Linked DNA regions of Homo sapiens: regions 1 and 2 are each linked to region 3. The links are contacts of gene promoters, found by promoter capture Hi-C in human tissues and cell types (Jung and others, 2019). All regions are on one chromosome and are shown on one strand. The core of a region is centred on a gene start or on the middle of the fragment in contact, and the rest is flanking DNA. Distances in the headings are between cores, read along the strand shown. Region 1 overlaps LPAR3 (lysophosphatidic acid receptor 3). Region 2 has its middle 16 kb from the start of SYDE2. Region 3 holds the start of MCOLN3 (mucolipin TRP cation channel 3).

Region 1 (2,899 bases), core at 72-2,571, 190 kb before region 3:
AATACTATCGCTTAACCTTCAGAGACCTCGGCTTCTCATATTATAAAATTATAAGATAAAACAAGGGCCGGGCATGGTGGTTCATGCCTGCAATCCCAGCACTTTGGGAGGCCGAGATGGGCAGATCACTTGAGGCCAGGAGTTTCAGACCAGCCTGGGCAACATGGCGAAACTCTATCTCTACTAAAAACATAAGAAAAGTAGCTGGGCATGGTGCCACATGCCTATAATCCCAACTATTCAGGAGGCTGAGGCACAAGAATCACTTGAACCCAGGAGGCGGAGGTTGCAGTGAGCGGAGATCACACCACTGAAACTCCAGCCTTGGGCGACAGGGCGAGACTGTCTCAAAAAAAAAAAAAAAAAAAAACCTAAAAAACACGATTCTTACCTATTTCCCTCCCTTGTCTACCTGACAGGCATGTCTCAGCCAGAGCCCATCTAAGGCCAAGATGGAAGTGAGGAAACCTGGGTTCTGCTTTTAGCTCCAGCATTTGAAAAGCCACTTACCTTCCCCTCAGCCTCAATTTCCTCATTTATTCATTGTAGTACATCTCAACAAGTGTGTGCCAGATAGGGTGCTAGCTGAGAGTACTAGCTGTTAGATATGTAGAGACAGATAAATAAGGTACAGTCCCTGACTTCGAAGGGTGTATACTCTAGTGCAAAATAAAGGCATGTAAACAATTAAGTACGTTGATTGTTGTATGGACAAGACTGACAGGCAGCCCAAGGGAGGCAGTAATCAGATTTACTCCAGTAGGGCAAAGGAAGATTCAAAGAAGATAGACCTTTGAGTTAGGTCTTACAAGGTGAATGGGAGTTTCCCAGGCAGAACTAGGGGAAAGGTATCCCAACATCTGCAAAGGCTTAAAGAGACAAAATGGGGGAAGCGCAAATAATTCATTATAGCTTGAGTATAGGATACATCTAGGGGAGTTGCAGGAAAATCGGATAATAATACCTTAACTACTTGCTTGGCAGGATTTCCATGAGACCAAAGAGAACAGTGTATTAAAACTGAAAAAGACACAGTACTGCAGAAACATCATGTGTGATTATTATTAGTACTCTGGCAAGGCTCTTTATGGTACTTAATTTTCACCCATTTCCTCCTAGCATGAGAACTTGAGCTATCGTTTCGTTGCTTACTGCTACTTTGCCTTCTTCCTCTCTCCCCTAAGAGACAAAAGAGGATGATTTAGCATCAATCTAAGTGGAGAGGAGGGAGGAAGAAGTGAGAAGAAAAACAACCAGCTCCCTGTTTTAATTACCACAAGCCCTAAGTCCCTTAACAACGATAATGTTTCATATTTTAAAAGAGTTCAGTGCTTTCTGGCAGAAAAATAAACCTTGACCCTCAAGATCATGGTTTTTCAAACGTTCTTGACGATAACTCATGATAGGAAATACATTTTATATCACAACCCAGCACACACACAGGCACGCAAAGAAAGGTTATAAAACAATATTGATACCTGTTAAATGCAACACACTCTGACATTTTCTCTTCTTTTTATGTCATTTTAAAAAGTGTTGCTTACAATCTCATCAGTGCATCAAAACTTACAGTTTGAAAAACATCACTAAAGGACAGGAGGGTTCATGGAAGACTTCAAAAGAATGGTTTGCAAGTCCCTTCCCTCTTTCTTTTCTCTTGTATTTTAAGACACTGCAAAATAAAGCAAAGTCCAGCCCATTTTCTGGGAAATAACAAAACATTTCTGTGTGCACAGTTCACATGGTGTGTTGTTTGACAATAAATTAGACGTTTCCATGTGGGGTTTCTTGTGTGTTTGGTTGCTGTAGCTGATTAGGCTTGTTGACAAGTAAGATTTCAAAACCCTTTCTTAGGCAGGGCCTTGGTGCTCTTTGGAAAGCAGGATCGTATGTCTCCGATGTCTTTTCAATGAGAACATTCAATAAGCAACTTTTTTCACATAAAGGGCCCCATCACACATTCTAACCCAGAAGTGAGCAAGCATTTTGCCTCAGGGCTGCTGAAACGGGAACATGATGCCTTGATGCCTTTCCAATCATGCACACACAGATTGAAAACTCACATCACCATCATCACTACCACCACTACCCTCAAGGAAAGAGTCTGAATCCCCATGCTGTTAGCTTTTGTGTTCAACCAAAATCCCAAAGCTGGAAAGGAACACAAAGGTCATCTGGTCTACTCTCCTTCCAAAGAGGATAGCCAACTAAACTTTGCTGGTTCACAGGTGAGCTATTTTTCCACCGCACCACAGCAAGTATTTGTACTCTGTGGGGCCTTCCTCATGGTAATGCACAAGCTTTAAATGTTTCTATCATCACACTTCTGAGTATGCCATTTCTCCCTCTTAGAATGTGTCTTCCTCCAGCCCATGCAAATCCCACCTATCCTTCCAGATTACATCCCAGCCCATTAAGAAGCCGTCTCCACACTCAACAGCCCCTGTCCATCCTTTCCTCTTCTGAAATAAGATTAAGCTCACTGAATTCATGCAACCATGTACCTCTTAGATACTGTTTAATAGACAGTTAATATGTACTTAGAGACTGACTTTCTAATATGTAAAAGAAGAGGGTTCGTAAGAAACTTTAGGATTTAATTTTTTTTTTTTTTTTTTTTTTTTGATACGGAGTCTCACTGTCACCCAGGCTGGAGTGCGGGGGCGCCATCTTGGCTCACTGCAACCTCCACCTCCTGGGTTCAACCAATTCTCCTGCCTCAGCCTCCTGAGTAGCTGGAATTACAGGTGCCTACCATCAAACCCAGCTAATTTTTGTATTTTTAGTAGAGACGGGGTTTCACCATGTTGGCCAGGATGGTCTCAAACTCCTGACCTCAAGTGATCCGCCCGCCTCGGCCTCCCAGAGTGCTAGAATTATAGGCGTGAGCCACCACACC
Region 2 (2,965 bases), core at 315-2,814, 170 kb after region 3:
CACTCTGTGAGAAGGAAACTTTCTCTCTGAATGGTGGAACTGTGGCCCCAAGAGAGTGGGGCAAGCCCCCATTGCCTTTTTCTCTCTCTCTCCATCCTTCTGCTACTTGGCCCTGTATGCAAGCACAGTTATAGAAGGGTGCAGCAGAGATGGGTAACTAAAGCCTCAGCTTGGTAGCCGAAGAACAAAAACAGGGAGCACCAGGGGACTGGAAAGAACTATAGAAACTGGGGAGATGGATTATGAACTCCTGAACTCATCAGTGAGCTCTGCATACATGAATCTGATTCTAATCAGCACACCAAAGACTTTGAAAACCAAACTAACAAATGTGCCACCATCCAGGGCCCAAAATGGCCACCAGATGACCTATATATGGGACAGATCTGAATAGCACAACAGAGGCTTAAAAAGCTGAGCTGACGTTAGAACCACAGCTCACAGAAAGTGGGTTGAAACTTGCAGCCTTAACCTAACCGGGTCAACTGTCTGCTGAAAAAACAAACCAAAAAAATCAACATTCACTGTAGAATGTAAATAAGACCCAGAGTTTCAGAATATGATATTCAATATGTCCAAGAGACAATCCAGAATTACTTGGAGGTAGTCAGGCATGATGGCTTATGCCTGTAATCCCAGCACTTTGGAAGACTTAAGTGGGAGGATCACTTGAGGTCAGGAGTTCAAGACCAGCCTGGGCACCGTAGCAAGACCTCATCTCTACAAATAATAGTAATTTAAAATTTACTTGGTGTACAAGGAACCAGGAAAATCTTAGCTTGCCTAGGAAATGATAACAGACACTAATACAAACTTAACACAGATGTTGGAATTATCTGACAAAGACTTTAAAACAGCTATTATATAAATGCTTTACCAAACACTTGCAAACACTCTTAAAACAAATGGAAAAATAGAAAGTCTCAGAAAAAAAGAAGATATGAAGAAGAACCAAATGAAAATATTAGAATTGAAAAATACAATGGCCAAAAAAAACCACTTTTACTCAATAGGCTCAAAAAAAAGATGGAGATGACAGAGGAAAGAATCAATGAACTTAAAGATATGTCAATATAAATTTTCCAATCTGGGCCAGGCACAGTGGCTCACATCTGTAATTCCAGCACTTTGGAAGACTGAAGTGGGAGGCTCATTTAAGCTCAGGAGCTTGAGACCATCCTGGGCAACATAATGAGAACTTTGTCAAAAAAAAAAAAAAAAAAAGAATGAGAAAAGAAAGGAAAAGAAAGAGAGAAAGAAAGAAAGACAGAGAAAGAAAAAGAAAAGAAGGAAAGCTTTTAATCTGAAAAACAGAGAAAAAAAATTCCTTTTAGAAAATGAATGCAGTGTTAGGGGCCTGTGAGTTACTAACAAAAAGTATAACTTTCCCAGCCTGGGCAACATGGAAAAACCTCATCTCTAGAAAAATTACAAATATTTGCTAGATATAGTGGTGTATGCCTGTAGTCCCAGCTGTTCAGGAGGCAGGAGGACCACTTGAGCCTGGGAGGTTGAGGCTGCAGTGAGCTGTGATCATACCACTGTACTCCAGCCTGAGTGACAGAATGAGAACCTGTCTCAAAAAACAACAACAGCAACAACAACAAAACAAAAAACAAAGGCTAACTTATGTAATTAGAGTTCCAGAAGGAAAAAGAGTATGGTGCTGGAAAAATATTTGAAGATGTAATGACTGAAAACTTCACAAGTGTAGCAAAAGACATAAACATAGAGATTTTTAAAAATTCAGTGAACTCTGAAGAAAATAAAGCCAAAGAAATCCATGCCCAGAAATTATAATCAACCTCCTAAAAACTAAAGACAAAGAAAAATAATCTTAAAAGCAGCTAGAGAAAAATGATGCATACCTATAAGAGGGACAGTGATTTCAATGACTGCAGATTTGAGCCTTGCAGATCAGAAGGAAATGTTGAAAGAAAAGAGCTAGAAACTCAGAATTATATACCCCCATAGCACTCTTTCAGGAATAAAGTGAAATAAAAATAGTCTCAGAGGAAGGAAAACTAAGATAATTCATTGCCAGTAGACCAGCTCTAAAATAATTTTAAATAAAGTTCTTCAGATAAAAGAGAAATGACACTAGAAATAAATTTGATTGGAGTGTTCAATCTGCAAAAATTTAGTAAAATTATTGATATGTTTCAGCTAGGGTAGTGGCTCACGCCTGTAATTCCAACACTTTGAGAGACAGAGGCAGGTGGATCACTTGAGCCCAGGAGTTTGAGACCAGCGTGGGCAACATGGTGAAACTCTGTCTCTACAAAAAATACAAAACTTAGCTGGGTGTTGTGGCATGTGCCTGTTGCCCCAGTTACTCAGGAGGCTGAGGTGGGAGGATCACTTCAGCCCAGGAGGCAGAGGCTGCAGTGAGCTGTGATCACGCCACTGCACTCCAGCCTGGGCAGCAGAGCAAGATTCTGTCTCAAAAAAAATAAAAAATGAAAATTATTCATATGTTTGGATTTAGGTCCACCCTTTTATTATTTGTTTTCTGTGTGTTCTCTCTGTTATTGTTTCCCATTTTCTCTATTCTTTGGGGTTTTTGAATAATTTTTCATACTCCATTTTGATGTATGGCAATTTGGACTCTATCTCTTTGTATAGTTTTTTTTTTTAATTAGTTCATCTGGGGAATAATATACACACTTAACTTTCCACAGTCCACTTAAAATCAATATTTTACCACTTCAAGTGGAATATAGAAACCTCCCAACATACAGGTCCTCTTGCCCTCCCTGCTTTATAATAGTCTTATCTCTTATATCTACATATGTTGAAACCCCATCAGAGAATGTTAAAATTTTGCTTTATTTTTATTTTTATTTTTTTATTTTTTGAGGTGGAGCTTCTCTCTTGCTGCCCAGGCTGGAGTGCAATGGCACATTCTCAGCTCACTGCAACCTCCACCTCCTGGGTTCAAGTGATTCTCCTGCCTCAGCCTCCC
Region 3 (3,008 bases), core at 408-2,907:
ATTATATAACTCATTAAAGTGTGGCTCCTGTGTGCGTGTTAAAATGCCTGTCAAAGCATAAATGCAGTAATTCTTAGGTAAAGGCATAAAGGAAAGAAAAAGTTATTAATAAATTAGGATTTTCACTTAACAGTTTTACTTCCTTCAAAAAGGCAGGATATTTTAACCAGCATTTAAGGAGACTTTATCTATAGGACTTAAAACGCAGATGATTTCATGTTGACCAAAGCTCGCATATGAACACCAACATAATGATGAAGCTGTTAATAAGCATGTTGGTGAGTTGTATATTGACACTAAGCGCTTTCCACTTTGATACAGGGAAAATTAAATTTTAAACAAACTAGCCACACACCATGTACAGTAATCCACAGGAACAAAGAGAAAACAAGCCAACCAGCATATATTCAGCACATCACAACGAGTTGTCCCGGTAGACATTTCATTCACCAGGACCAGATGCTGACCTTGGAAAAGTCAGGTTTACCCAGTCTGAAAAGCCCTTCCGAGGGTGCACTTTTAAAAACTGCAAACTGTCGGGAACCCCAGCAGCTGAAGGAGGTATTCGCAGCCAGCCACCCTTGACATTCACCCGGAGCGCCGGCGCGGGAGGCAGGGTGGGCGAAGGACCCCATCAGGAGAGGCTACCCGACGAAGGGGCCATCCGGAGAGGCTACCGAAGTATCTATCAGGCATGCTCTTAGAAGGAGCAAACGGACACACACAGGTTACCTGTTCCTGGCGGGCAGAGGCTTGATTGGAGTAAGCTGTAGAAAATTGGAGAAAGCCCGGGAGTGTATAAATAGCAAAGGCCTCCCAGTTGGCGACAAAGTTATGCAACCTCGTTTTTTCAGAAGCGCTTTCCCACTTCACCAGACACAAAACTTTAGTCTCTCCAGTCTTCTTTTTTTTTCAAACAAACAAACAACAAGGGTTGACACTTTTGTTGGGTAGTGTGTGCGAGAAAGATCTGCAGGGTTGCAGCGATGTCCCAGAGCGGTCGCTGCCATCCCCGGGCACTGCCGTGGAGCTCAGACGGCCGCAGCCCGGCTGGCGGCTGCTTTCAGCCAGCGCAGCGACCCGGGCCTGAGCCCCCACTTCCAGCCGCCCCCACCTCTAACAGGGGGACAGTCCGCCTTGAAAGGGGCCAGCCGAGCCGCGTCAAGGCCATCTGGAGCCCCGGCCGGCATCCAAGCCTTCCAGCCCAGGGGCTCCGGGCGGGGGTGGCTTCCAGCCCTCTGAGCCCTGGCCACAGGTGGGCGGCGGCCTGGAGGGGGACCGAGGAGCAGAGCACCCCCACCCGCCCAGCCCCGGGCAGGCCCGGCAGGCGCGCTCCTCCACTGACCTGCGGGCGGCTTGGGGGCGGCGCGGAACAGCTGCATCTCGCGCCCAGCTCCAGCCCGCCTGCCCTCCATGGCGCCGACTGCCCGGCCCGGCCTTCCCGCGGCGTCCCCGACAGCTCGCTGCCTCCCGGCCTCCCCGGCCCTCCCTGTGCGCCGCGGGCGCCGTTCCCGCGACACCCGACGCCCCGGGGCAGCGCCCCGCGGGCTCACCTGGGGGACAGCGGGGAGCGGCCGCAGCTCCGGTGTCCGCGGCGAGGGCGCAGGGCGAGTCAGCGAGCGACTCCAGCAGCCTCGAGCCCCGCTCCGCCCAGAGTCAGACGGGAGGAGAGCGCCCCGTCCGCCGCCCGCGCATCCTCCCGCCCCCGCCGCTTTAACTCGTGACCCTACTCCCGGCTCGGGTTCCCGCCGCGCCCTGTCGGGGGCCGCTTTTCAGGAGCACAGGTGGGACGCAGGAGGCCGTCCGGAGGAAGCCGGCGTTGTGCCCGTTCCCTGCCACCCCCACCCTATCACTCCCTTCATTTTCTCCCTGAGCAACCCGCACCGCCCTGCTCGGGTTTGCCAGGTTTGCTCCGGAGCTGCCGCCGGCGCCGGGGGGCCACCCCCTCCTGGCCAAGGCCCCTCAGGTGGTTGCCGGGCTCCGCGGGTGCGGGATCTATAGCGCCTAGCTCCGGTGAGTGTGAGGCCCCGCTGCAGCCTCCCATTCTGATTTTTGCATACAAGGTGAAATCTTGAATGTCTTAGCGTTTCAAGCCTGAACCTTGTTCCCTCCCTGGGTCTTCTAGTTTCAGACAAGTGCTGTGAAATGAGTGGACAGTCGACTAGACTCTTCTGTAGATTGGCGGCTGGGGCAGAAAGAGCCCTGGGAAACTTTTCCAAGAAATGTAAATAGAAATACCTGAAGTAGACTTTGAACCGTAATCTTTTTCTTCATAAATTATCTGTAAATATTAAACCTAATACCCCTTATCAGGATTGGATCAGGAACTTTGGTTAATTTTAATTATAATTACTTTGGATGTGTTCTGATTTTTAATTTTTACTTATTTTTTTTTTTTGGCCACGGGTAAATTTGTAAAGGTCACTGAATTTCCCTACTAGGGTATTCCTGAAATTAGATCGATACCTAGCAAACCTTTTATAAAACCTGTTTTCAAATCCTAAACCAGTATGCATGGATTACTAATAAATTTTTGCAACAGGGTACAAGAATTTTATGCTGTTCCTCAACCTGGATCCCACATACTGTGAACAAGGTAGATACCCAGAAAGGATATAATTGGCACAGTCAATTCTCAAGTGCAATTTGGAAAATATAATGTAATCTTTAATCCCCATATGCCTACACACGATGTAACGCTATCTCCTTACTTGATGGTAAGAGTTTGAAATGCTTGATTGTTCAGGAACAATCTGAACTTTGAAGAGGTTCACAGTCATAAATGATGGCACTTGCTTAACCCTCGTTTTAGCTGAGTTATAAGGACCGGTGAATAGATAAAGCCAGGTTTTGGAGTCAGACAGATGAGGGCCCAAATTCCCTTCTGTGCCACTTATTGGTCTCTAGGGAGTTACTTACCTTCTCTGAACCCCTTTTCTTTTTTATGTGCAATCTGTGAAGTTAGCCGAGAGAAAGGACGAGAGAGAGAGAGAGAGAGGGAGAGAGAG

Evidence for each region. The method cuts DNA at HindIII sites, captures the fragments that hold promoters and counts their contacts. A contact is called where the count stands out against the background at its distance.
Region 1: a fragment that was not itself captured here is called in contact with the fragment with the promoter of MCOLN3 in region 3 in 1 of the 25 tissues and cell types used here (IMR-90 fibroblasts).
Region 2: a contact is called between a fragment that was not itself captured here and the fragment with the promoter of MCOLN3 in region 3, in 1 of the 25 tissues and cell types used here (small bowel).

What each region holds. Positions count from the first base shown.
Region 1 is chr1:84,858,135-84,861,033 of GRCh38, forward strand. All of the region lies in intron 2 of LPAR3 (lysophosphatidic acid receptor 3), which reads right to left. Among named protein-coding and RNA genes, the nearest start is that of LPAR3, 34 kb to the right of the region's middle. The HindIII fragment of the contact is 5,926 bases long and covers 1-2,899 here.
Region 2 is chr1:85,215,578-85,218,542 of GRCh38, forward strand. No RefSeq gene overlaps it. Among named protein-coding and RNA genes, the nearest start is that of SYDE2, 16 kb to the left of the region's middle. The HindIII fragment of the contact is 3,111 bases long and covers 10-2,965 here.
Region 3 is chr1:85,046,843-85,049,850 of GRCh38, forward strand. It overlaps MCOLN3 (mucolipin TRP cation channel 3), which reads right to left and starts at 1,658. Exons shown (of 13, transcript NM_018298.11): 1 at 1,554-1,658. RefSeq lists silencers at 1,140-1,889, 1,920-2,059. The HindIII fragment of the contact is 9,392 bases long and covers 1-3,008 here.